Linked DNA regions of Homo sapiens: regions 1, 2 and 4 are each linked to region 3. Evidence: promoter capture Hi-C in 16 types of primary human blood cells and fetal thymus (Javierre and others, 2016). All regions are on one chromosome and are shown on one strand. The core of a region is centred on a gene start or on the middle of the fragment in contact, and the rest is flanking DNA. Distances in the headings are between cores, read along the strand shown.

Evidence for each region. Contacts are between HindIII fragments. The CHiCAGO score rates a contact against its expected background, and 5 or more counts as called.
Region 1: the fragment with the promoter of REL here is called in contact with the fragment with the promoter of CCT4 in region 3 in 3 of 17 cell types (naive CD8 T cells, naive CD4 T cells and total CD4 T cells); the score reaches 7.4 in naive CD8 T cells.
Region 2: a fragment that was not itself captured here is called in contact with the fragment with the promoter of CCT4 in region 3 in 1 of 17 cell types (neutrophils); the score reaches 6.6 in neutrophils.
Region 4: a contact is called between the fragment with the promoter of WDPCP here and the fragment with the promoter of CCT4 in region 3, in 10 of 17 cell types (naive CD8 T cells, non-activated CD4 T cells, total B cells and 7 more). The highest score is 12.7, in naive CD8 T cells.

The regions. Positions count from the first base shown.
Region 1 is chr2:60,877,740-60,884,057 of GRCh38, reverse strand. It overlaps REL (REL proto-oncogene, NF-kB subunit), which reads right to left and starts at 2,484. Exons shown (of 10, transcript NM_001291746.2): 1 at 2,208-2,484. The coding sequence starts at 2,217. REL-DT (REL divergent transcript) reads left to right here and starts at 2,744. Exons shown (of 3, transcript NR_033980.1): 1 at 2,744-2,826. RefSeq lists an enhancer at 2,072-2,741 and a silencer at 2,350-2,889. The HindIII fragment of the contact is 7,860 bases long and covers 802-6,318 here.
Region 2 is chr2:63,831,928-63,839,124 of GRCh38, reverse strand. It overlaps a transcript of WDPCP not described here. Among named protein-coding and RNA genes, the nearest start is that of UGP2, 6.4 kb to the left of the region's middle. The HindIII fragment of the contact is 4,031 bases long and covers 139-4,169 here.
Region 3 is chr2:61,885,969-61,892,982 of GRCh38, reverse strand. It overlaps CCT4 (chaperonin containing TCP1 subunit 4), which reads left to right and starts at 4,327. Exons shown (of 14, transcript NM_006430.4): 1 at 4,327-4,602. The coding sequence starts at 4,476. It also overlaps a transcript of COMMD1 not described here. RefSeq lists enhancers at 3,058-3,617, 4,557-4,636, 4,178-4,737, 4,738-5,299. The HindIII fragment of the contact is 8,675 bases long and covers 1-5,880 here.
Region 4 is chr2:63,585,765-63,592,734 of GRCh38, reverse strand. It overlaps WDPCP (WD repeat containing planar cell polarity effector), which reads left to right and starts at 4,258. Exons shown (of 18, transcript NM_015910.7): 1 at 4,258-4,538. The coding sequence starts at 4,464. It overlaps MDH1 (malate dehydrogenase 1), which reads right to left and starts at 3,772. Exons shown (of 9, transcript NM_005917.4): 1 at 3,689-3,772. The coding sequence starts at 3,691. RefSeq lists enhancers at 3,742-4,061, 4,573-5,093. The HindIII fragment of the contact is 5,833 bases long and covers 1-5,079 here.

The DNA.
Region 1 (6,318 bases), core at 1,235-3,734, 1.0 Mb after region 3:
AATTTAGAATTTTATTAGTGAATCTTTTTCTTTCTCTAAGGTCTTTATAACAGATTAAGGAAAAGTACACAGATTCCTGTAAACATTTTTTTTTTTTTATTCCAGGCCTGGCAGTTTTCTAACAACTGAATTACAATTTAAATAACTTGTTACATTTTAAATAGTCCCATTTTAATGCAACTCTTAGAAAAGACCAAAAAAAAAAAAAAAAAAGTTAATCACCCTTCAACTTCTAAACCTTTAAAACTTTCCATTTCTTTAAACATTTCCTCCTTACTTTTAGGGAATCCTTCCTCCTCACAACAGCACAAAATACAGTGTCAATGAACAAATTTAAATTGTATCAAATTTTAAAATCCTGTGGGTCTTACAATACTCTATATAGAAATGGTTGTTTCCTCTCTCAACTGAAAAAATTAGAAGTATTAAATTCATGCAATATATCAATAAAGTTTGATTAAATCGCCAAGAGCCTGAACTTACTTATAATGCTAGGCATTCTCCATTACTTCCAAACAAAATCTTTCTGATAACCAATACATTAACAAAATATTTGAAGTCATCTTAGCACTTCTAATCTACACATGCTTTGAATTCATAAATTTACACGATTATCTGAAAGTCTGGTGTCACTTAAGTGGGAAAAGGGAAAGTTGAAATATTTTAAACTACACTTAGTATTCTCACAACCACAAACAAACTGAAATCAAATGTCATGTGAAACACCCCAATTTCCTTTTCTGCCTACAGCAATAGCTATGGCATTGTTCTGCTCAACCTTTTAAAAAGGTTCTTTAAGCTTCCTACTTCCTCATCTCTACTAGACATCAGCCTACTTCTGAGGGTCACTGGACCAGGCAGTTTGGGGATAAGAGTCAAGTTCATAAACGGGGCCCCCTCTTCATTCTCTTAGTACAGCATTTAACATGCATTTAGCCCTCCCTGCCTTTGCTCACGCTGCTTCCTCTGTCTGGAAAGTGTCCCCCACTCACCTTGCCAAAATCCTGGTAAAAGACCAACTCGACCCCAGGCTACTTGATTTATCCCCCCGCCCCGGCTCTCCCGTCCCCCTCAACCTTAAGCTCCAGGCAGCCCCAACCACATCTGTGTATATAGGAGACTTTCTTGCTCTGCAATGTTTCTTACAAACTTATTCCCCCCCAAAGGGAGAGATCGAGCATTTATTAAGGGAAAATATATAGTCACATAAGTGATAAAGTTGTATTCATTCCTACTCATTATTTTAAAGCTCGGATATTCTAAAACTCCTCTTTCCCCTTATTTCCAGCGAGGAGGAAGGGGGATTCAACGTCTCTATTCGTCAGATTAGGAACCTTGAGCTTTATCTCACAGTAAAAACTACATTTTTTTTTTTTTTAAATAGAGACAGGGTCTCCCTCTGTCGCCCAGGCTGGAGTGCAGGGGCGCGATCTCGGCTCACTGCAACCTCCACCTCCCAGGTTCAAGCGATTCTCCTGCCTCAGCTTCCCGAGTAGCTGGGATTACAGGCGCGCGCCACCACGCCCCGCTGATTTTTGTATTTTTAGTAGAGACGGGGTTTCACCATGTTTGCCAGGCTGGTCTCAAACTCCTGACCTCTGGTTATCCACCCGCCTCGGCCTCCCAAAGTGCTGGGAATACAGGCATGAGCCACCGCGCCCGGCCTACACTTGGTCGAAGCAACATTAACACTTAAAATACCACGGATTTTCTAATTCGTGTTAAAATACCACGGATGATTTTTAAAGCCGTGACACATTTTGTACAACTGTCAGTACAAGGGGGATCACCTCTTTGCATTTGATGAAATTAAACTAAAAAGGGGGAGAGAGCTTGCCCGAGGTCTGAAGGTTCCTCATTCCTGTTCTAAAACATAAAACCACCATCTTCAATACATATACATTTTTAATGAGAACTCTTCGTCCTCCTTTGGTTCGCTTATGACTTCCCTAATCCTAAAATCAAGTCGTTGGGAATTTCTAAGGTTCCTGCTATGACAACAGGATCGAATTACAGAGCGTGGCTTGGATTCTGCACGCAAACCCTGAAGCAGGTAACTTTTTTAAAAGCTGACAATTTTACCATATGAGATTTTAAAGACAGAACGCGCCCCAGCAAAAACTGAGCTCCCTAAACTCACTGCGGCAGGACCCCCTTCAGAAGAGCTCCTTTCCCCCGGCCCAGGCCCGCGCCCCATGAACACTCACCGGAGGCCATGGCTCCGCTCCCCGCACCTTCCCGCAGGCAGCTCCCAGCGTCCTGGCCGGAGGCGGCCGCAGTCAGTCAGTCAGGAGGCCGAGGGACCTCTGCCGGCGGGGCCCCCAGTCCCCCGACCACCCTAGAGGCCTCCTCCTTCTTCCCGCCCTCCGCTGGGTTTGCGGCTCACACCTTCCCAACCCCTGAATTCTTGCACCCCGGGTCACCCAGCGTCGCCGTCCACCGTACGGGAGCCAGGGGCAGGGGGCGGAGCGGGGAGAGCCGAGTGCTGGCCCAGCCGAGAGGCGAGCAGCCTGGCGGGAGGGGAATTTCCCGCGGCTGACGTAGGCCCGACGCAGCAACCCTCACCCGGAGGCGTGGGCGGGGCGACCTCGCGGCCGCCGCGCGCGCGACCGCCCCCAGCGCCCCGCCCCTGCCTGTCCCCGCGCACGCTCCCCGCCGGCCCCCACGCATACGCCCCCGGCGCTGCTGCGGCGGCTGGCTTGGGAGGGGGTCGAGGGAGCGGGAGCTTGGGGTGGGCTTCGGGAGCGCAGGGAACGGCGGGAGCCGGGAGGTGACGGCTAGCAGCGTGAGAAGGCCGCTGGCTCCTGAGAAATCCCCCTCCTCCAGGTTGTTCTTCCGAGTGTGGTTTAAAGTTCAGGAGCGGGCGGGAGGGTGCGGATGACGTAGAGAGGGCCGGCCGCTGGGGAGCTTTTGGGGGCGCGCGGGGCCGACTCTCCCGGCCTGGGAGGGCGACGGCCGGGGTTTTCGAGAGGTGGTTCCCCCTCTTCCCGACTTCGCACATGCAAATCTCCACCCCCGCGCCAGCGGCGGGACGTTGCGCCCTGTAGGGGGAAGTGGTGCTGCGGCGGGGGTCCTGTCTTCTTCTGTAATTCCTGTATTTGCATACGGGGACCCCCCCCCCGACTGATTTTTTTTCCTCCATCTAAATTGCGAGGGTACTGTGAACTTTACGTATTTTACCTACTGAAACCCGTTTAAACTCAAAAGGTCCGCACTTGGAGTTCGTTGTCTCATTAGGCAGTGCACTGAAGTTTAGTGGACACTATATCCTGAGATTTCACACAGATGCCAAGAAAGGCGGAAATGGAGCACACATTTAGTGCATTAAAGGACCTAGGATAACTTCGTTTCCTTCATTTGAATAGTACCTGCTATGCATCAGATAATGTCCATACTTAATCTATGACGTATTTATTATTCCTAACTTTATAGATGAAGTATTCGGGGTTCAGAGAAGTTACTTCAACATACAGTACTTCAGAATGCTGATAAAAGGCACAGTTTAAAGCCAGGGTTGTCTGACTCCAAAGCTCCATGCCCTTGCCCCTGTCCCTTACTAGTTAAAATTAGTACGGAGAGGTAATGGGGAATATCAGCCTGCCATACAAGTGCCCAAAACTGGGGGACCCATATGGGCAAATAATTTAAAATATCCTGCCAACCCCAAACTGTTCTTTCCACGAAATGCGCAATGTACAACAAAAGAATGAAACAGTTTTATTATTGGATATGTACTAAAACGTACCATGATGCACATCACAGGCAATCCACTGAAGAGAGTGCAAAGACCAAAAAAAAGGAAATCTCACCTTTTCATATGGTCAGGCACGTACAATCCATTACATACCTATTAATTGTCTTTATCCAAAGGAAAATAATGGGAAGTTATCTTGGAACCAAGAGCCAAGGCTTAAACCCTCCTAGAGACAGAAACATGGAGCACCATCCTTGATGTTCACATTTCCAAGAGATGGCTCCGAGGCCCGCAAGAAAGACCTTCTGAGGACGCAAAACTAGCAAGAGGCTTATTTAGCTTTTTAAAATATGTACATACATTTCAAAGAGACGGAAAACATTTTCAGTTCTCTGAAGGAATTTCAAAATGAAAAGTGACTGGGGGAGAGGAAAGTTCTGAGGAGGTGACATTTGAGCTGAGTCCTCAGTTTAAGAAAGAGCCGGCCAGGCGCAGTGGCTCATGCCTGTAATCCCAGCACTTTGGGAGGCTGAGGCAAGTGGATCACGAGGTTGGGAGTTCAAGACCAGTCTGGCCAAGATGGTGAAACCCCGTCTCTACTAAAAATACAAAAATTAGCCAGGCGTGGTGGCGGGCGCCTGTAACCCCAGCTACTCAGGAGGCTGAGGTAGAGAATTGCTTGAACCTGGGAGGCGGAGGTTGCGGTGAGCCGAGATCATGCCACTTGCACTCCAGCCTGGGCGACAGAGCGAGACTCCGTCTCAGAAAAAAAAAAAAAAAAAAAAAAAGGCCATTCACAGGGAGATTCAGGGAAAGAACATTCCAGCTGGGGGAACAGCAGGCAGCAGGTCCTTGAGATAGGAAAGAGCACAGTCAAGAATTGTCCCTCATCCTCATGACCTTCAAACGTCTCATCAAACATTCACTTTCATGTAGTTGAAATGCCTATTTTAATAATATATGGTTAGAACACAACTCCCTTTCATATATAGATATAAAATATTTTTGTATGGTTTTTAATATATACTGAATTTCCCAGGAATGCAAATATTGTATAAATTGAGGGCAGACTTTTATTAAAAAATGTTTTAAAAGTTGGAAAATTGTAACTCTGACAGCTCATCAATACAACACAGTATGCCAGCTGTGGTGGCTCACACCTGTAATCCCAGAACTTTGGGAGGCCGAGGCGGGTGGATTACCTGAGGTCAGGAGTTCAACACCAGCCTGGGCAACATGGTGAAACCCTGTCGCTACTAAAAATACAAAAATTAGCTGGGCGTAGTGGTGTGCTCCTGTAATCCCAGCTACTTGAGAGGCTGAGGCACGAGAATCGCTAGAACTGGGGAGGTGGAGGTTGCAGTGAGCCGAGATCACACCATTGCATTCTAGCCTGGATGACAGAGCAAGACTGTGTCTCAGAAAACAAACAAACAAAAAACCACAGTAGTATCAGGCTGCATTTGCAGCACTTGCATTCACACTGATTCTAGGTACAAGTACAAACATCTGGCAACTTCATTATGTCTTTTTTTTTTTTTTGGAGACAGGGTCTTGCTCTGTCACCAAGGCTGGAATGCACTGGCATGAACACAGCTCACTGCAGCCTCCACCTCCTGGGCTCAAGCTATCCTCCTACCTCATCCTCCCAAACAGCTGGGACTACATGCCCGTGCTACCACACCCAACCCATTATGTCTTTTTTTTTTAAGAGACGGGGTCTTGCTATGTTGCCCAGGCTGGTCTCGAACTCCTGGGCTCAAATGATCTTCCCGCCTCAGCCTCCCAAAGTGCCGGGATTATAGGCATGAGCCACTGCATCTGGCCCCATTATGTCTTTTGATGTAGTTATGCCCAAGCATTTACATACTGTAGTCGATATTATTTTCCTAGAAATTGCTTTCTTTTTAATTCTTGATATTGCTGTTAGAACATAATTTTTATTTATTTGAAAATATTCATGTAAGGTAGATTATGAATTTCACTTCAACCTACTAAAGGGGATGTTACAAATATATGTTATAAAACAGTGGGCACTGATCTGAAAGGGCAGAGAACCTTTAGAACCTTTAGAACTGTTGATGCTAAAGAACTTACCTTAAACATATGAAAAAAAATTTTTTAATGATGCAGCAGTTAAAAAGTCACAATCCTCCAGGAAAGAAACAAATCTGATTAGCAAATGGATGTGTTCTGAGTCTGTGATCGCAGAATATGAAAAAGTAAGAGTGAGGGGTCAAAAGTGAAATTGCTCCATAAGATATTTTTTTGTTGTTGAAAGAACAAGACACCCATCATTAAATTGAATGGATACAGTTAACAACAGTTTCAGAATAAAATCAAACGTTGTGGTCACCATAGGTTCATAGAACTGGAACAAACATATATTATTTTGGCATTCTTGAGCTTTCCCAGGCAGTAACTAAAGGTGACCGAAGTCATCATCCTAGGGGCATGCTAGTATTTGTTTAGGTCTGTTAGTGTGGGGCATGGATAAAATAATGTGTGCTCAGTATCTGCAGTAGTTACAGGCCAAGGCTGAAGCCTAGTGGAGAACAGGGCTCAGAGAAGCCTCTTCAGAGTGTCATCAAGGAGAGTCTTTGTAACCCACTACCCGGATTAAG
Region 2 (7,197 bases), core at 905-3,404, 1.9 Mb before region 3:
ATTGAGATATAGTACCAAAGGTTGTTGTACACTTGCTGCCTCAAGAACTCTCCAAAAAGTAACTAACTACCCATCTTCAGGGGCTACATCTGTAACTACTCAGTCACTAGTTCTTAGAGAAGTAGCACTCTAGAAGCTTAGTTTCCAAATATTTCCAAACAGTACTTATAAAATGAAATTTCTTTATACATCGGTATAAATTTAAATTTTGAACCCACAAACACTTTGTAAGCGAGCTTCCCACTCTCTCAGAGCCACTAAGAACAACCTCACTTGACAAATCCTGTGGAGATAGGAAAGAAAGAGGTGGAGTTCTTAATGGCCATGGAGCAAAGACATGCTTAGAAAGCAGTTACCTATTTCCCTTTATATATTTCAGTCATTGAAAAATTGCTTTCTCTGGGCAAGTATGTGTATCTTTAATCCTTTTTTTCATAAGATACTACTCTGGAATATCCCTTCAAGGTGCATGATGTTGATAATCTGTATCATTAGAAATCTGTAACATCGGTAGATTTATAGATTTTACCTTTGCAGAAACCTGGGGTGGGGGGATCCAAAGAATGAAGATGGGGGCTGATAAGAGTGTGTACAGGGTTAAGGAGCTGGAGTGAAATGGATTGTGAATTAGAAAGAAAGCCTGGAAGCCAGTTTTTGTCTGGTTCCATATGCGACCATCCACGGATGATACAAATTCTGCCTATAATTTCTTCCTTCTTTCTACTTTCCCATAGAAACTTGAGGAAACTCAGTTTGGTTTACCCAGTCCCATATCCTAGGATGTATAACAACCTCACCATATCTTTTTCCTTTGCTTTAGACAGGAGCTCTCTATCAACAGCAAGGAAACCATGTCTGTGGTCCTATTTCTAAGCATCTTTTTTGGTGCCTTTTTAGATTTAATGCTTGGCACAGTGTCTGGTACATAGCGAACATTCCATAAGTATATATTGAATGACCAGTTTAGTGCCACTAAATCATTTTAACTCACAGTGTTGTATCCTACTCTCCACTCTTTTTTTTTTTCTTTGAGATAGAGTTTCGCTCTGTCACCCAGGCTGGAGTGCAGTGGTGCGATCTCGGCTCAATGCAACCTCCACCTCCTGAGTAGCTGGATTCTCCTGCCTCAGCCTCCTGAGTAGCCAGGATTACAGGTCCCCACCTGGCTAGTTTTTGTATTTTTAGTAGAGACAGGGTTTCGGCGTGTTGGCCAGGCTTGTCTCAAACTCCTGACCTCAGGTAATCCTCCTGCCTCAGACTCCTCAAGTGCTGGAATTACAGGCGTAAGCCACAGGCCCGCCCCTACTCTCTGCTCTTTGAGAGCCATATAAAACATAAAAAGTTTATATTTAGAGATAACGTTTTTTAAGTTTCAGTTATTTCCACCTAGGAGATGAACCTGGGCCAAATTATAAGAATAATAGCAGCAAATGCCCTGATGACTTTACAATAAGCTGTGTTAACTACCCATGAGCATTATCTAATAAGGAGTGGTGTAGGAATTGTTAAAGGTATGAAATAAGTATACAGATCATCAATGTGTGTGGTCCTTTATTTTTTCTTGCCTATCCTCTACATTCAAGAAAATAAAGCAGTGTAGTTTGAGCGAACATGTACTAGACATAAAAATTTCTGTGTCATGCCCAAAGTGTTTAGCCAAGAGACCAGGCAACAGTTATCCACTGGACTGTTGCCCATACTCAATATTGGCTCCCATCTGTACCCATCTAAATCCTAGGCCACCCACATGAGAGAGGAAAAAGGGGCTACTGTTACTCAGTCAGCAGTTGCCAGTAACTGACTACATCTAACAATAGGGCATTTCACTTGAGTAAAAAGGTAACCAAACGGGCTTAACTGGAAAAAGATATCAAATTATATCTATGAGATGGACTACTAATGAATGAGTTGTCTAAAAATGAATGGGTTTCCAAATACTTGAGGAAGAGAAAGACTTCATTCTTTCCTGTTGCCAACACCCTGTTAATGAACCAGGAAGTTTGCTGAAACAAGTTGTGAATTTAAATTATGACATATCCTTCCATTTGTTCACAGTATGATTTTTAAGTTATATTTGAGAGTTATATAACTTTTACATCAGAGCAGTAGCAATTATTTCAAATAACTGAGATGCTTTAAAAAATGAAGTTAGTTCACATTATGGATAGTTAATTAAAGGTTCATAAACCAATCTTCTAAGTGGTTTTAAAAGTCATTAGGCTCCCAAGCATGTTTAATCAAAACATACATTATCTTGTTCATGTTTATCAATAATTCCCCTCTAGATTCTCCTTTGAAAGTTGAAGGAAGCAGGTCCTTACTATTTTGTTTTCTGTTTAGTCTGTTCTGCATGTTCCCCAGAGGAGAGTGTTGGTGAGAAATGGTGACACCCATGAGGTTGTTGTATTTCTCTCATGTGCAAAACTGTATCTCCAAATTGTGTCCGCCCCTTTGATGATAGAGGCAATAGAGCCATTCCCTTTAGTGAATGGCCCAGGAAAAAACATAAATAAACTCCCTATATTCTCTCAGGGTTTTTAACAAGCGTAGATTGTTATGTGATTATAATTTGAAAAGATAAAAAAACTAATAAGAAACCATCTTTTACCAAACTCATAGAATAAATATTATTTTGATTTACTGTAGTGATATATGTATAGAAGTTCAGGTTACTTATTGACTTTCAAATCCTCACAGAGAAGAGTTGTGAAAGAGAAAAGCATTCAGTTTAATTCTATTTTTTCTGCCTCTTTCAACTATATGAAAGATTCCCTGTTGTGCATTCCATCAAATGACTTTTGATGGTTTTCTAAACATCTCTGCCTCTGGTCTAGTTTATTAAATTTCCTGCTAGTGCCACCACTGGAAAGGAAAGGATAAAGAACTTCTGTTTCCTAACTTAGTCTCAGGGAATGTATTTTAAGCATTTCACACCCACCAACCTAACGAAATATTAAAGAGAAGATTCTCAGCTGGGTGCAATGGCTCACAGCTGTAATTCCAGCACTTTGGGAGGCCAAAGCTGGTGGATCATCTGAGGTCAGGAGTTTGAGAGCAGCCTGGCCAACGTGATTAAACCCCCTTCTCTACTAAAATACAAAAATTAGCTGGGCTTGGTGGCAGGCGCCTGTAATCCTAGCTACTTGGGAGGCTAAGGCACAAAACTCACTTGAACATGGGAGGCGGAGTTTGCAGTGAGCTGAGGTCACGCCACTGCACTCCAGCCTGGGCTACAGAACAAGACTTTGTCTCAAAAAATAAAAATAAAATAAAGAGAAGATTCTCAGGACTGCTTTTTGGGTGAAGATTAAATAATTGAATAATTCTATGTCATTAGATGGATAATATGATTAGAGAATAAAAGGTAACTACTTTTTCTCTCTAATGAAAAAGAGGAGGTATGTCATATTTAGAGAAAAAACTACAGGAAAAAATATGAAATACTAATGTTAAGTTCTGGTGCCATTTTATTATTTTTTTTATTTAATTTTTTTTTTTAGATCACATAGCTACTATGTGACAGAACCAGGATCTGAACTGAAGCTATCTGACTCCAAAAACCCACAGGGAGGAAAATTTTCTCCCTTCGGTTTCTGGAGGTTGATTTGCTACCCCTCTCCATCAAAACAGAAAGGAGTGCAAATGGTCAGGCCTTTATCCGGGACAAGTAATCTCTTAATGACTGAAGTTCTCTAGTAATACTGTTTTCTTCTTTTTTTTTTTTTTTTTTTTTTTGAGATGGAGTCTCGCTCTGTCACCCAGGCTGGAGTGAAGTGGTGCAGTCTCTGCTCACTGCAACCTCTGCCTCCCAGGTTCAAGCAATTCTCCTGCCTCAGTCTCCCAAGTAGCTGGGATTACAGGGGCCTGCCACCTCACCTGGCTAATTTTTGTATTTTTTTTGGTAGAGACAGGGTTTCACCATGTTGGCCAGGCTGGTCTCAAACTCCTGACCTCAAGTGATCCGCCCACCTCGGCCTCCCAAAGTGCTGGGATTACAAGTTTGAGCCATGACGCCTGGCTTCTGGTGCCATTTTAAATTGCACTTCAATTTTTTTTTTAAATTTCAGTAAGAATACACAGCTTAAAAAAAAAATCCAGATAGTACCAAAATGCCAATAATGAATAGCAGTACTTTTTTCTAGAAAGTACTTTAAAATAATGATGAAGCTTTAATTTATAAAACATGCATGCATTGTTGGATCAGTCAGACCAAAACTACTTTGGATGCCACAAAAAGGGCACTTCAGCTGCTAACGAAAAATATCCGATGTCTACGAAATCAGAGTTTCAGAGCCACCAGAGCTGCACCATCCAGGAGCTCCATGTTGGCTGCAATGTGCTGAGCACAGCCAAGGAGGTAGGTGTTCCATTATCTGGACATCTACTTCAGGAACCAGCTACTGAACATACCACTCTTCACCTTGGATAAGAGGCCTGTGGAATTATTAGATGTTTTTTTATCATCCACTCTACCTGTAGAGATGCTGCTCCTCTTGGCCACCTTCCAGGAAGCTCTGGTAAATGCTGCTAGCAGCTGGACTGCAACCAGGCCAGGGGCTCCCAACTTGCGTGCCCCAGGCCTGAAAGAATCAATATGCTTCACAGCGTTAAGTCATTCAAAACATATAATTAGAAAATTCTGGTCTATATTACCTCTCTCACAACTGCTGAGCAGCATATTAAAAAAAAAATGAGAATTTGGAGCAGAGAGCAGTACTAGGAGAAAGACAGAGGCCATTCTCAATTATCAGTGACTTACAACAAGAGTTTACAAAGAAAATGTTAAGAGGTCAGCAACTTACTGAAGTTCTAGCTTTGCATGGATCTGTACAGCAACAAATTAAAAACAGACTATTTGGGTAATAGAAATTTATTGAAGACTGCTGTCTGGATTTGGAGCATCACAGACAGACTGAGAGACGTTCAGCTGTTTGATATGTAAGTCTTTCTAACACAGACCAGCATGGAATGGAGACCAGATAAAGTCACAAATGGAGTAATAGGATAATGAAAGAAAAAAGAATACAGATAGACCTTTGCTTAAGCTATGTTAGGCTGAAGGTTTTACCAGTTTCCTAGTGAGAAGGAATAAAACAGTGATAAAACCACATTGATAATTATTTGAAATTTGTGTGTGTGTGTGTGTGTGTATGTTGGCATACACTTACACATGTTCATATATTTATTTATAATTTATATTCTTTCTTATTCTAAAGAGAATTTGAGGCCAAGCAAGGTGTATATATTCCTAATTAAGTTCATTGCTTAGTAAACTGACCATACTATAGTTCATTCTTATAGTGGAAATTCAATTTAGTCATTCTCATCTAAAATCCTTTTTGTTGTCTTTAGATTGTCATGTTAAAGAACCTCTTCTTATATTATTTTTTAAATGACTTTTTCTCAACCCAGTGAACCCAAGTGATAACAGTCTAGATTCTGGGTCTAGAAAGAGTTAGGAAGTAAGCAAAATTCCTCAACATTATAGATGATATTCTAGATTAGGTATGCTATATATTACATGGTCAATCTCTGAAACTGTAAACACTGAAGTCTCTTCAAAAGAATCTCCACAAAATATGTACCATCATGTAAGGGTTCGTTGGTTGGTTTTAATTTATTGGTGTTTTTCTGTTTTCGCATATTGGTGTCTAGGGAAGCAGAGGAGTACATTGGAAAAAGCAGAGTTTGGAAAATAGGTCTTTTTTTTTATTTCAAATTTTGTCACTTAGAACCTGAGTAACCTTGGATAAATTACTTAGATAACCTTATGAACCTTAATTTCCTCACTTAAAGATGAGAATAACAACTAATAGCTTGTCTCACCAGACAGAGAGTTATTATATAATACAGAGGTGTTTGTTTGTTTTTTGAGATGGAGTCTCACTCTGTCACCCAGGCTGGAGTGCAGTGGCATAGCCTCAGCTCACTGCAACCTCCACCTCCCGGGTTTAAGCGATTCTCCTGCCTCAGTCTCTTGAGTAGCTGGGATTACAGGCGCCTGCCACCACACCTGGCTAGTTTTTATATTTTTAGTAGAGATGGAGTTTCACCATGTTGGCCAGGCCGGTCCTGAACTCCTGACCTCAAGTGATCCTCCCGCCTTGGCCTCCCAAAGTGCTGGGATTACAGGTGGGAGCCACTGTGCCCGGCCTGAGTTATTATAAAGATCTTCTCACTCTGTTAGCACAGAGTGTAAGTTCAGCTAATGATTATTCCCTGTATTGCCATATCATACGATTAATCTCAAGTTATTGTTATTAATTGATTTACTATTATAACTTATTAAATATTTATTTCCCCTTCATAGACTATAAGCTCTTTAAGAGCAAGGACCATGTCTCTCTTGTATCCCCAGAGTGTATCATAGTGCTTGACACATAATAGGCACTCAAAAGAAATTTGTTCAATGAACTATCAAATGAGATATTTATGAATGAATTTAAAAACTGTAGAGTACTGTATAGGTGTATATTAGAGTTTTCCCATTATTTCTATTGGAAACATGTTTTGGATGGCAAATAATCAACTTATAAATGTACTTTTATAACACAAAAGTGATCACTTCTAAGCAAGTCCTGCAGTAATAGATTGTTTGCAGAGATGGCCACAATTCTTCCCATCCCTGTGCCCCTTGCTCTTTTGCAATGTGACTTTGTCACTCCTCCCATTAGGAGGTGGAATTTCCCCCCCCCACCCCAACACCTGGAGTCTGTGTTGGCCTGGTGATTTTCTTTGACCAATAGAATACAGCAGAAGTAATGTTATGTGACTCAAGAAGCTTTTCAGCTTTCAACCTCATGCCTTGGAATACTGACCTGAGACTGCTGCATGAGGAAGGCCATTATTACCTGATGGAAAATGACAAGCTACATGAAGTAGAGATGAGTTTTTCCAGTTGAGGCCCCACTAGACCAAACAGTACAGACAAACAGGCTGCCAGATGCGTTGTAGCCCATCTTAGGCTATCCAGCTCTCATTAAACTGCCTAATGAGTCAAACTGGCCACATGAGTGAACTAGGTAAGACTAGTAGAAGAATCACCCAGATAAGCTATATCCAGTGCAGTGTATTGATACATAGTAAAAGTTAATTCATACCATAATTGTAGTCTCAAAGAAAACTCAAACCACTCAAACCACACTCATTTGCTCTTTGCTTAGTCCCAGAACTGCTCTTCATCTTTCCACAAGATGG
Region 3 (7,014 bases), core at 3,078-5,577:
GGCAGGAGAATCACTTGAACCCGTGGAGCAGAGGTTGCAGTGAGCTGAGATTGCGCCACTGCACTCCAGGCTGGGCGACAGAGCGAGACTCCGTTTCAGGGGGGAAAAAAAAAGAACGATGCAAACAGTAAGGCTTAGGAAAACGGGGCTTAATGGTGGTCTCGATAATAAACTAATGCAGAGAAAAATACAAAATAACAACAAACACTGTCTTTGAATTGGAGTAAAACCTAAGAGAGATAAGATACATACAGCCCTCTCTTCTTTTCTTTTCTTTTTTTTTTTTTTGAGACAGAGTTTCCCTCTTGTTGCCCAGGCTGGAGTGAAATGGCACGATCTCGGCTCACCGCAACCTCCACCTCCCAGGTTCAAGCGATCCTCCTGCCTCAGCCTCCCCAGTAGCTGGGAATACAGGTGCATGCCACAACACCGGGCTAATTTTTTGTATTTTTAGTAGAGACAGGGTTTCACCGTGTTAGCCAGGATGGTCTCAATCCCCTGACCTCAGCTGATCCACCCTCCTCCGCCTCCCAAGGTGCTGGGATTACAGCATGAGCCACCGCACCTGGCCCCTCCTCTCTTCTTTTCTAACCTTAACCAGTTCCTGGCTCAGTCCTATTATTGAGGGTCTAGGACATCGTGGGCTATTCATTCTAAAGAGAACCTTCATTTGGATGGCTGACAAAGTATTATTGTTTTGTAAAACCTATTTCATAAATTATTAAGGAAATTGTATTGTTATTGCCAACATTCCCACATATGCCTTACGTCTGCTTGGATCTGACAGGAAAGTATTTTTGTTTGTTTGGTTTTGTTTTGTTTTGGAAAGTATTTTTTAAATATAGGAAAGCTGGCCGGGCATGGTGGCTCATGCCTTTTATCCCAGCACTTTGGGAGGCCAAGGCAGGCGGATCACCGGGTCAGGAGATCGAGACCATTCTGGCTAACACGGTGAAACCCCCTCTCTACTAAAAATACAAAAAACTAGCCGGGCTTGGTGGTGGGCGCCTGTAGTCCCAGCTACTCAGGAGGCTGAGACAGGAGAATGGCGTGAACCCGGGAGGCGGAGCTTGCAGTGAGCCGAGATTGTGCCACTGCACTCCAGCCTGGGTGACAGAGCGAGACTCCATCTCAAAAATAAATAAATAAATAAAAAATAAATATCAGAAAGTTTTAAAAACATTTTTACCCTTCATTAGCAACAGTGCTTTGCTTAAAGTACTCTACACAAGTGTTTATGTTTTTGTTTTGTTTTGAGATGGAGTCTCACTCTGTCGCCCAGGCTGGAGTGCAGTGGCATGATCTCGGCTCACTACAACCTCTGCCTCCCGAGTTCAAGTGATTCTCCTGCCTCAGCCTCCCGAACAGCTGGGATTACAGGCATCTGACACCACGCCTGGCTAATTTTTGTATTTTTAGTAGAGATGGGATTTCACCATCTTGGCCAGGCTGGTCTTGAACTCCTGTGATCCACCCACCTTGGCCTCCCAAAGTGCTGGGATTACAAGTGTGAGCCACCACGCCCGGCCATGTTTAGGTTTTAATATTTGTTGAAATCCCATTTTAATGGAGAAATAATGTACATTAACACTCTGATGAAAGCCGATGTTTAACATTTATTTACTGCCTAATCCCACGAACAAAAATAATTCCAATTTCACAGAAAAAGAAATGTTTGTAACTTGAAACATTTCAGATACTTAAAGCATGTCTCAAAACTTTAAGACTCTCCCAAGAAGCCAATAATGGCATCTTCCAAATTCTGCTCTGTCCTTTATGGCTGACAGATCGACTCCTTACACTGGTAGAACTAGTAGTTTAGTAAGCCCCTAGAGATCATCTAGTTCAACCCTCCTATTTTACAGATGAGGAAAATGAGACCCAAAGGATTTAAGTGGCCTTCCTTAGGTCACATAGCTAATAAGTAGCAGAGCTATTAATAAACTCAAATCCAGTATTTTACATCCCAAAATTAATGCATTTCCTCATCACCCACTTGTTTCCAACATATTACATCAGTTGTCTAAACAAATAACCATAGAATTTATGTGCTACTTGGGAGTATTCTGGTCCTCTGAAGAGAAGTCGGCCTCAGAGGTTTATGGATCTTCATTTCCTAGTGCTAATATCCTTCTTTTTTTTTTTTTTTTTTTTTTGAGACAAAGTCTTGCTCTATCACCCAGGCTGGAGTGCAGTGGCGCAATCTCGGCTCACTGCAACCTCCACTTCCTGGCTTCAAGGGATTCTCCTGCCTCAGCCTCCCGAGTAGCTGGGATTACACCCCCGGTTAATGTTTTGATTTTTAGTAGAGACGGGGTTTCGCCACGTTGGCTAGGCTGGTCTTAAACTCCTGACCTAAAGCGATCCACCCACCTCGGCCTCCCAAAGTGCTGGGATTACAGGCGTGAGCTACTGAGCCAGGCCCCTAGTGCTAATATGCTAAATGTGTGTTAAAGAACAACTTGGCGAGGTGGCTCTCGCCAAGCCTGCAATCCTAGCACTTTGGGAAGCCGAGGCGGGCCTATCACCTGAGCTCGGGAGTTCGAAACCACCCTGTCCAACATGGAGAAACCCCGTCTCTACTAAAAATACAAAATTAGCCGGGCATGGTGGTGCATGCCCGTAATCCCAGCTACTGGGGAGGCTGAGGCAGGAGAATCGCTTGAACCCGGGAGGCGGAGGTTGCGGTGAGCCGAGATGGTGCCACTGCTCCAGCCTGGGCAACAAGAGTGAAACTCCGTCTCAAAAACAAACAAAAACAAACAAACAAACAACACCACCACCACCTCATAATTACAAGATTAAGTACCTTTGAACATTTGTTTCTGAACCTACCACACGCAACTGTCACTTTGCAGGTGCTTAATAATTGTGAGCGAACATTCAACAAACCTCATTTCATAAACTTCCCTACTGAAATATAGTGGTCATAGGAGACCAGCAGTTTAGCTCATGGCTTCTGGTCCTTGCTTTGTATTGGAATACTGCTTCTATCTACTGACTCGTTTACCCTGGGCTTCAGTTCCTTCTTTGGGCTCCAGTTCTCTCACCTTTTAAGTAAAGGATTATTGTGAGGACTAAACGAGATATAAAACGTGTAAAGGTTTAGCACTGTGCTTAGCAGATAACGGAAATAAATGATCTTTATTATAATGTTTACGTTCCCTAAGAGTCAGTGGCTACGTCATGCAGGAGACACTAGTGTAGAACAAGCGGGCGGTGGTAACTAGACAGACCTGATTTGGCAGTCTGTCAAACCTCCACCACCCAGTATCAACCAATACGAGATAACTAACCTCGCCTCATTCCAAATCTCCCTTTTCTGACTCCCTTTCAAAATGAACAAAACTGCATAAAATGCAGGTCTATGTGGCCGGGCAAAAACAGACTCAGTCATATCCCTTAGAGAGTTATTCCGGCGCCCACCCCACCTCGCGGATAGATCCAGCCGGAGTTAAAGGAGGGCACCTCCGGGTGGGCGCGGTGGCTCACGCCTGTAATCCCAGTACTTTGAAACGCTGAGGAGGGTGGACCGCTTTGAGCCGGGGAGGTCAGACCAGCCTGGGCAACACAGCGAAACCCAGTCTCGCTATGTTTCGAATACAAAAATTCGCTAGGCATGGTGGCGGGCACCTGTCGTCCTGGCTAGTTGGGAGGCTGTGGCGGGAGGATCGCTTGGGCCCCGGAGGTCGAGGCTGCAGTGAGCCAAGATCGCCCCACTGCACTCCCGCCTGGACGACAGAGCGAGACTCTGTCAAAAAAAAAAAAAAAAAAAAAAAAGGCCGGGCTTCGTGGCTGACGCCTGTAATCCCAACACTTTGGGAGCCCGAGGCGGGTGGATCACCTGAGGTCGGGAGTTCGAGACCGGCCTGGCCAACATGGTGAAACCCTGTCTCTACTAAAAATACAAAAATTAGCTGGGCATGGTGGCGGACGCCTGTAATCCCAGCTACTCGGGAGGCTGAGGAGGATCGCTTGAACCTGGGAGGCGGAGGCTGCAGTGAGCCGAGATTTTGCGCCACTGCACTCCAGCCTGGGCAACAGAGTGAGACTGTATCCAAAAAAAGAAAAAAAAAAAAAAAAAAAGGAGGGGACCTCATAGCCGTGCAAGGTGGAGTGAGGAAATGCGGATGTCCTCACCACTCGCCTTTAAAATCGCGCGTTGTCATTGCTGCCTCGCGTAAAGGTTCCCCCGGCGCTCTTCACCCACAGCGCCCCGGGCGTACAATCTCGCCAGCCCGGAGCCCACCGCACGCATCCTCCTCGCCCGGCGCGCAGCGGACAGCCTCCTACGTCACGCCAGCGCCGCGCGGCAAGGAAGGCCCCCTTCTCCGCCTCCGCCTCCTCCCGACGCCGGCGCCGCTTTCTGGAAGGTTCGTGAAGGCAGTGAGGGCTTACCGTTATTACACTGCGGCCGGCCAGAATCCGGGTCCATCCGTCCTTCCCGAGCCAACCCAGACACAGCGGAGTTTGCCATGCCCGAGAATGTGGCACCCCGGAGCGGGGCGACTGCCGGGGCTGCCGGCGGCCGCGGGAAAGGCGCCTATCAGGACCGCGACAAGCCAGCCCAGATCCGCTTCAGCAACATTTCCGCCGCCAAAGGTATCACTCTCATGGCCTGACCCGCGGCGCCGCGGGGTTGTGCTCTGCGCTCTCATCGTGGGCTTGAGCGGGTTTGGCTCATTTCCCATTTCTTCGGGTGATCCTCTCTTGTCCTCCCTATAGAAGCAGCCCAGTGGAGGGATCCTTATTTCTGTTTTTCTGCCGATGATCGCCAACCCGGAGTATGGAGGCCTTTGGACTTGCCCCATTTTGCATCTTAATCTCCCTTAGTTTTTCATCCTGCACTGTGCATCATTCATATTGGAGCCGAAAGCAGTTCAAAATGCCGAGGATTGCATGCAGTCTTCACTAGGGATCTGACGCTTGAGGGCTGTCGCTTATTGCTTATTGGAACTGGTAGAATGCACAGTATCTTTCAGCTTTGTTATTCTTATTTAAAGAACTATTAAATAAACTTCACTTGGCACAACTGTTGAGACGAATTGGGTGAACTCTCCGAGTCTAAATTGGGGCGGGGCCCATTGTACTGGGATGGATGTGGGAACCGACTTACGTGTCGTGTTTGAAATAGTTGCGGAAAAGTTACGTTGATGTCGTCTCCGCATGTGCAGTGAAACATAGGCAAATCAAGAAACAATTATTTGTTTTTTTTGTGGAAGTGTGTGGCACACGTTGGAAATCAGGAAGACCAGAGTTTCATTCTCTGCTTCCGTTACTTCATGTCTTAGTGACCTGTAACCTCTGTGCCAAAGATTCACTTATAAAATTGGAGGAAAATGTTTGCTTTTTAGAGTTAAGATTAAGAGAAATCGAGTTGAAATAGAAAAATCTGGAAGGAAAAGTCAGGACAGAGGTTTAGAGATCTTGCCCGAGTGTATATTGAGTATAGTAGTTCTTTTGGGTTGGAGAATAGTAGTATGTTTACAGAAGAGGTGAGATTAGAAAGCTAGGTTGGGGCAGATGTTAAAGGCCTGGTGTCCTGGAAAGTATTTGGCTTAATCTCCCCCAGCTATGGGATCATTTCTTTTTAGCCATCGTGTAGGCTTGCTGTGAGGATTCAGTGAGAAAGCATATAAAGACCCACGTATATAAAGTACACCTTACATGTGTTTGCAGTCATCAGCCCAAGTAACTGGGAATGTGATGGCGCTAAGATAGGTAACGCTGGATGTAAGAAAAAGTAATAGTTTCTAACTTGTCCTAATGAGTTGGAAAGGTCAGAATGGCCAGATTTAGGAGTCATTTGTAAGTTTAGGAGATAATACACCTGGAAACGAAGGTTTGTAGGATAATTGTCTAGGGACCATAGTTGAAGCTTACATTTATTAGATTAGGAACAGAATGTTGAAAGATAAATTTTGGGTCGGGCAGGGTGGCTCACGTCTGTAATCCCAGCAATTTGGGAGGCTGAGGCTGGCGGATCACATGAGGTCAGGAGTTCAAGACCAGCCTGACCAACATGGAGAAACCCCGTCTCTACTAAAAATACAAAATTAGGTGGGTGTGTTGGCGTAGGCCTGTAGTCCCAGCTACTCGGGAGGCTGAGGCAGGGGAATAGCTTGAACCTGGGAGGCGGAGGTTGCCGTGAACTGACGTCGCGCCATTGCACTCCAGCCAGGGTGACGAGCGAAACTCCGTCTCAAAAAAAAAAAAAGATAAATTTGGGGGCCAAGAGAGTTTATAATATGGTTGATATTCAACAAACAAAATAAGTGGGAAATTTAGCAACCTTTGAAACAAAAGCAGACAAAGAACTGAAACAACAGAGGAGGGTGTGCATGTGGGAAGGAAAGGCCACCTAAGTTATCTGTGAAGATGACCCGTTATGTCTTAAACTCCTGGCCTCAAGTGACGGCCTGCCTTGGCTTCGCAAAGCGCTGGGATTACAGGCGTGAGCCACCGCACCCGGCCCCAGAGATGTTTTATAACATACTGATGATGACCAAAAGCTATGATTTGAGAGTTTTGGTTTTTGTTTGGTTTGTTAGGTTTGGTTTGTTTGTTGAGATGGAGTCTGTCTTGCTCTGTCCCCCAGGCTGGAGTGCAGTGGTGTGATCTCTGCTCATTGCAACTTCTGCCTCCTGGGTTCAAGCGGTTCTCCTGCCTCAGCCTCCCGAGTAGCTAGCTGGGACTACAGATGCGCACCGCCACACCCGGCTCATTTTTGTATTAGTAGAGGCAGGGTTTCGCCATGTTGTCCAGGCTGGTCTCGAACTCCTGACCTTAGGTGGTCTGCCCGCCTCAGCCTCTCAAAGTGCTGGTATTACAAGTGTGAGCCATCACGCCCAGCCTTGTTGGATTTTTTAGAAGAGTATCTTGCTCTGTAGCATTTCCATTGTGGTTTGCCCTTTTGGCGGTGTTGGCGGGCCACCTATCTACCATGTTCACATTAGTGAACAAAAGTCTTTGCTCTCAGAGATTACATACTAGACAGAGTAAACAAATAAGTGA
Region 4 (6,970 bases), core at 3,009-5,508, 1.7 Mb before region 3:
TGGAAATGTATAAGAACTGTTTGAAAACATATGTAACGTGCTTTAAAAAATTTTTTAAGATATTTTATTTATTTAAGCTATTTCAGGCTGAGTGCAGTGGCTCACACCTACAATCCCAGCGCATTGCGCGGGGGGACAAGGCGGGTGGATCACTTGAGCCCAGGAGTTCGAGACCAGCCTGGGCTACATAGTGAAACCCTGTCTCTTAAAAAAACAATTTAGCTGGGTGTGGTGGCAGATGCTGTAGTTCCAGCCACTCAGGAGGCTGAGGTAGGAGAATCACTTGAGCCTTGGAAGTTAAGGCTACAGTGAGCCATTACTGTGTGAGTGCACTTCAGCCTTGGTGACAGAGTGAGATCCTGTCTCAAACAAAAACTTTTTCATATATACTATGAAAACAAAAGGTATTTTATTCATATATATTATGTATTGAGAAAACTGGAAACTTAGTGACCACAATAGTTCCAACTATAGCTAACAAAATTGTCATTAGTACTAATGATATTACCTTATAAATCCACTGATGAACTGTTTTCTCATTTAATTCATTCATTAAACAAAACATCATTAAGTTCCTATCATGTACTTGGTACTATTTTAGGCCAGGGAATCCATTGGTGAATCACGTGAAGGAAACAAAAAGGATACACCAATTTTCTAAAACAGGGGGCTAGAGAAGCAGTAGAGAGTAGTAATTAAAGAGATGGACTCTGGAGCCAGACTTTCTGTGTTCAAGTCCTGGCTCCACAACTCATTAACTGCATGCTCTAGGACAAGTTACTTAACCTTTCTGTATTATTTCCCCATAGTAAAATGGAGATAATAATAGCAATTACCTAACAAACAGAGTAGTTTTAAGGATTAAAAGAGTTAACACACAAAGCACTAAGAACAGTACGTAGTGAGTATTTATAAATATCATCACAGAATTTTCCTCTAAAGACTTTAATAGCCTGTGGTTTTCTATTTACATTTCTGTTGCTCTGTATTAGGCCATGAAGCGCTCTTGAGAACAGTCTGTCTTTGATATGGATTTGCATTTCCACAAAAAGTATTTGTTGAATGAAGGAAGGTTAGGGTATAAAGTATGAACAGATACTACTTCAATGAACAGCAAACTAGGATAAGAAAAGGGGGGCTGAAGAGAGTGAAGATCACTATCTATTAAGTTTAACTTCCCATAAGGTCACCTATATGGTTAGAATAATGCAGTCAATTTTAGTAGCTACTTAAAAACATGTTCACAGTATCACAGTCCTTAGTGAAGGGGTTGTGGCCACCTAATGAACAGTTAATTCCACCTCAGCAGTTTTCTTCTGTGTCTTTGGGGAAATTACTTTCCCAGGTAGGTAATTCCATCTTATTAATGGTAGTATGAGGCTTAGTGTTTGAATGTCTGAAGATGAAACAGAGAAAGAAAAGTCCATGTATGGTTCTTTCTGCTCTTCTGCAACATTGCAGTTGAAAAGCAGGAGGGTGGGAGAGTCCTGCTGACTTTCACAATGTTATAGTGTGAACATAGGTTACTATTCTTTGCTCAGATATCTGGGCAGTGTGCCAAGGTCCAAAAAAGGAACGTCTTTGCTCTTAGCAGGGCACCAATGACTTTCCTGCAGATGCAGGCTCTGTGCTAACTTCTCAGCTATAAAGATTGAATTTAAGTGTCTGTTATTCCACAGACAGAGCCACATATTTCTTTTTCACTTTCAAATTTATATATATTTCTAAATTACATGTATTTCTATAACACAAAAAACTAAGCAGTACCATTTAGATTCCTTCATACAGTTTATTTTGCTGTCACTCCCTACAGACAACAAGCAAAGAATCCTCCGCTTTGAATGAGCTTACAGAAGAAGGCTCTTTTCTAACTCTGTCCATTCACACACCCTCCTGAGGGGGCAGGGAAATTGAGTCATGTGTGAGTTTGCTGTCAGTTCCAGCAAACTGCCAGACAAATTCTTCCTCATGTTCTGTCTCTGTGTTATCTGGCACCCCAGTGACCTTCCAACGGTGGGGCCTTGCTAGGGAAACTAGCTAAGAATCTGGGGCCCAAAATCTCTGTGACCTTGGGAAAATTATCTGACCTCACCAGACTACATTATAAGAGTAGATAATATAATCTCCAAATTCCCTTTTAATTCTACAATTCCAGTATTTTGAATGGCAAGGAATAAAGCTATCAAGTAATCTACATGCTGATAACATATTTGAGTTTGTATATGCAGTATGAACTGGTAACTTCATCCGGAATCTCAGCTAGTAAAAATAAGTTTTCAGGGAGTTGAGTACACTGTCTCTCCCCCGCTGCGAGACCTCACTGCGGTGGTCCCTATAAAAATAAAAATTCAGAAAGACTTGGTAAGTGTAAGACACAATATAGAAAAATGGCAAGAGTGTGAGACTCTTGGAGCAAATCACATTCTCTTTGGGTCTCGATAAACTCCATTTTAAGATCTGAAGTGGGGAGATTCGTCAAGATGACCTTTAAAAGATCCCATTCAGTTCTAAAAGCAAAAAGTCCAAGGTTATCAGATAATAAGTACCTCTGCTTTCTAGCTAAGGTTATTAGGACAGAAACTACCGAAACCATAATTTAAATGACTAATTATGTGACAAAACATTTAGGAAACCTAGGTTTAACACCTACTGGAAATTAGTAGCTGTCTCCACTGGCCCCGTTAGACAGGCAGAGAGAGTAATGCCCTTGCCTTGAAAACGTGTCTTTTCAGGTTCTGGGAAATTTCCAATTCATTCAAACATTTCTCCACATTCTCCAGCCGTTTTAGTATTTTGCAGATAAAGTAGGAAAAACAGTCGCAACTATAAATACAAGCCATTGTATTGATAGTATGAAGCGATTTCTCTGAGTTTGATGACAAATGTCACCTTCAAGCAGTACGCAGATTATTCCTACGCCAGAGTTCCTTCACCAACTCTCCCCCTCCCCCTCTCTTTCAGCAGAGACAAGCGATGGAGATGCAGGTTACCCAGGTCTTCCATGACAAAATGGTTACTCTGTTACATTTAAGAGAGGTGCTTCTGGAATTCACAATATACAGTTCAATAAAGAATATTTGCAGTAGTTATTTAGTTAGTGATGCTGTCACTTCAATATATCCTGGCATTACAAAAAAGGTCAATGAACGGGTTCCAAATAACATTTTGAGAAATTAGATATGGCGGAAACACGTCTGCTGCAAACGCAGATCGTAATCTGGAGCACCTGGTAAATACTACCTTTCCAGCTTTTTGCTTTCAAGGTCCCTGTGACAAAAGCCGTTATAAACACTGTGGGCAAATGAGGAGAAAAAGGGGTTAGGACCCAACCTTTCCCTCCCATCGCAAACCTTATCGTCCTTATCAAACACCGTAACGTCCTTTGGAAAATAGCTGCAGCGTCGCATTTTGTCCTCCCGTCATGCAGCAGGATTAAGATCGCTCCTCTCCCAGGACAACTACTTCTCCAGAGTCCTCCTAAGAGCGCCCCATACCCCGCAAGGTGGAAATCAATCCCTTCCCATTACTGGGTCACTGCGGCAATCCCCAGAAGATGAGTCCGAGCTTGCCAAAGGGCGCGAAGGACAGTGCCTTGCACAGCTGCCTCCCAAAAGTCCCTAAAGTGCAAGAAACCCCACTCAAGGGCGCGAGGGCCAGAGGTGGGCAGGAACCCGGGGCCCACACTCACCATGATTGAAAACTGCGGGGACAATTTCAACAACTGCAAAATGAGCCTCAGAGAGTCAGGTCACCTCTACCGCGGAACTGACTCGGAGAGGGCGAGCGGTGTTAGCGAGAAAAGGCTCCGCTCCCGACGCGGCGCTCTCTGGGAACTGTAGTTTACGCTGCCCTGGTTGTGGCGCAATCTCCAAAGCATTTCCTTCAAGTGTTGAACTACACTTCCCGATACCAGAGGTTTTTTTCAAGCTCTTCTCACTGCGCTCTGCGCCGATTGCAAAGTAGTCCCTGAGGATGAGCCCCTGTGATTGGAGGACGACAACAAACGGATGGTTTGGGCTCAGGAGGAAAGGACCTGCCTGATGGAGCCCGGCAATTGGCGGGAGAGATAGCGTGTGTAACTCTAGGGAGGGGAGAATCACCCCTTAGCGACATCACCCCCACGCGCGTGACTGAGACTGCATCCTCCCATGAGGGTAAACGTGGGAGGTAAAGAGACCTTCCGCTGCGTAAAGCTGGATCGACCCGGAAACAAAATCTTTTAAAAAACGATTGACACTCTGGAGGGGCGGGGGAATTGATAAGTTGGGACGACCGGACAGCTTCTCAGGTTGCTAAGCGACGAGGCGGGAGCGCACGCACACCCTGGCTGCTTTGTAGCACCTGAGGAAACTGTGGCGGCGGCGGCGGCGTCCTGGAGACCCAAGAGACCAAGCGAGCGTGTCGCTCCCTCTCGGGTCCGAGGACCTAGCCTAGGAACCTTCTGCCCGGGGTAGTGTCTGGTGATGAGGCGAGAGTTTTGCTGGGACGCCTACTCCAAAGCGGCCGGGAGTCGCGCTTCTTCCCCACTCCCGAGACAGGTGAGCCCTGGCCCGAGGGCAAGGGGTTTTCTTTTAACCTTAGGATCCGGAATGCGGTTGGTGCGCCGTCCCGCTTTGCTTTTATCCGCTGTGCGGATGCCTGCAAGCTCGCCGGTCCCTTTTCTGAGCGGAGTATGAGGGCTGTGGGAATGCAGCTATTTTGGAGGGGGTGGTGCCCTGGAGTAGGTGCACCCCCGACCCCAAATGGAGCTCTTCCAGAGTTATATCAAAAATATTTATTGAGCATTTACTTTGTAGGAGGTGAGCCTCTCCCTTCCAGGAGGTCACAGTATACGGTTCTAATTTGCTCTAAGCCCTCCGTGAATGTTGAGTTTTGTCCATTCCCTTTTGGAAGAAACAGGATGCGCCTTAAACCATCTTGAGTCTTAAAGTTATGCCAAACAGGCATTTCTAAGGAAAGACTGGCGACTGAAGGGGAGACACTGGTTGTTTAGTCAGTCAGTCTCAGCTGGTAAAACAACTTAAGAGGTTCTCTTTAAAATTAATGCTGCCAAGAGAATTGCTGTGCTTTTTGAAAGCTTGTTTCTTGTGGATGTTAAAAGGAAGATATGATGCTCGGGAGTAGCATACACAGCATATACGTAATGAAAATGAATAAAACATCTCTATTAGATAACATTGTTAGAACTTCCGTTTTTTCTCTGTCACTGATAAATGAATGCCAAGTAATATCTTTCAATTTTTCTCTATTTCAGTTTGGAGGATTTGCTATTTTTGGAAAGAAATGTAATGCTTTACTTTTAGCATTTATTAATATCATACCTGAATGACTCTCCTTGTATCTCTTTATTCATTTGGCTCTCAGACAACATACTTTCCTGGTTTTCCTCTTTTGTTACTGGTTCTCAGTTCTGCGGAGTTTCTAAATTTTTTTTAGTTGTGATCTCTTAACATTGGGGTGCCTGTATTCTCTGTCTATACTAAATCCCTCAGTGAGCTAATTCATAAGTTGCATCACTTCAAATGCTACTTTTAATGTCAAAAACTCTCAAATTTATGTGTCTAGTCCTGAATTAGTAGGTGTGCATTATTCTCAAACCTAGGTTCTCTGAGTTTTACTTTTTACTCTGAGCAGTTACGAAAAATTTCTTCCATTATCCTCCTAAATGAATTCTTCTACTAGCTGCTAACAGAAAGATTTTTCCATGTTGTTGTCCTTAAAAATATCATGATTTTACCTAATGTAAATGACGAGTTAATGGGTGCAGTACACCAACATGGCATGTATACGTACATATGTAACAAACTTGCACGTTGTGCACATGTACCCTAGAACTTAAAGTATAACAAAACAATCTCATGATTTTTGTCCTCGATTTACAGTGAATTTTACAAGGGAGACTTTTTATAACCAGAATTCTCACTGCAGTCCTATAGCAGGACAGGACATTCCCATACTCCAAGAAGGCCACAAACATGTAAGCCCCCGTATTCCCATCCAGTCCAGATATACAGAATTGAAGTCACCTGTGTGGTAGTTCACGGGCCTTGTTCTGTTTATTGCTAGTTGCCCTTGTAAATCAGGTTAAGGAGCATATTAGCACTGATTGTAAGTTACTTTTCTCAGGTAATATAATACACTGCAAGAGAAGATGTTTGGTAAGGTGGGTATATCAGCACATTTCCAATTATACTAATAAGATTGTCTGTGTTCTCTTCCTTTTGAACCGTCTTTGGTAATAGCTAATGTCAAGTAGCACAATATGTCATTGCACTTTCACTGTGAGTTTGAATCTCCAGGTGGTTTGTGAATGTGTTGCAGACATTCATTTTTTGTTAAGGCAACAAACAGAGCATTAAACTGTTATGCTATATTTGGAGTTATGCTTAACATTTTTTTTGCCCAGCCTCGCGTTATTTAGTAAGGTAATATTTAATTCAAATTGTAGAAAATGTTTGAAATACCATTCTAACAACATCCAGCAAAGATATTAAAGGATCATTAAGTTTCAAATCTCTGAAATAGAATGTTGGCTCTTGATACCCAAGGCACTTTGGAACTCACAAGATCTTATGCTTTTTTATAGTATACAATTATTTAACCACAGCTAGGCGTGGTGGCTCACACTTGTAATCTCAGCACTTTGAGAGGCTAAGGCCGGAGGACTGCTTGAGTCGAAGAGTTTGAGACCAGCCTGGGCAATATACTGAGACCTTGTCTCTACAAAAAATTTTTAAAAAATTAGCTGAGTGTGGTGTTGTGCACCTGTAGTCCCAGCTCCTCAAGAGGCTGAGGTGGGAGGGTTGCTTGAGCCCAGTAAGCAGAAGTTGCACTGGCATCACTGCACCCCAGCCTGGGCGACAAAGGGAGATCCTGTCTCAAAAAAAAAAAAAAAAAAAGAAAATTATTTAACCTCATATTAATTTTATCTCTAGCATATATAAAATTGTTATAGATCTAGTTAAAACTC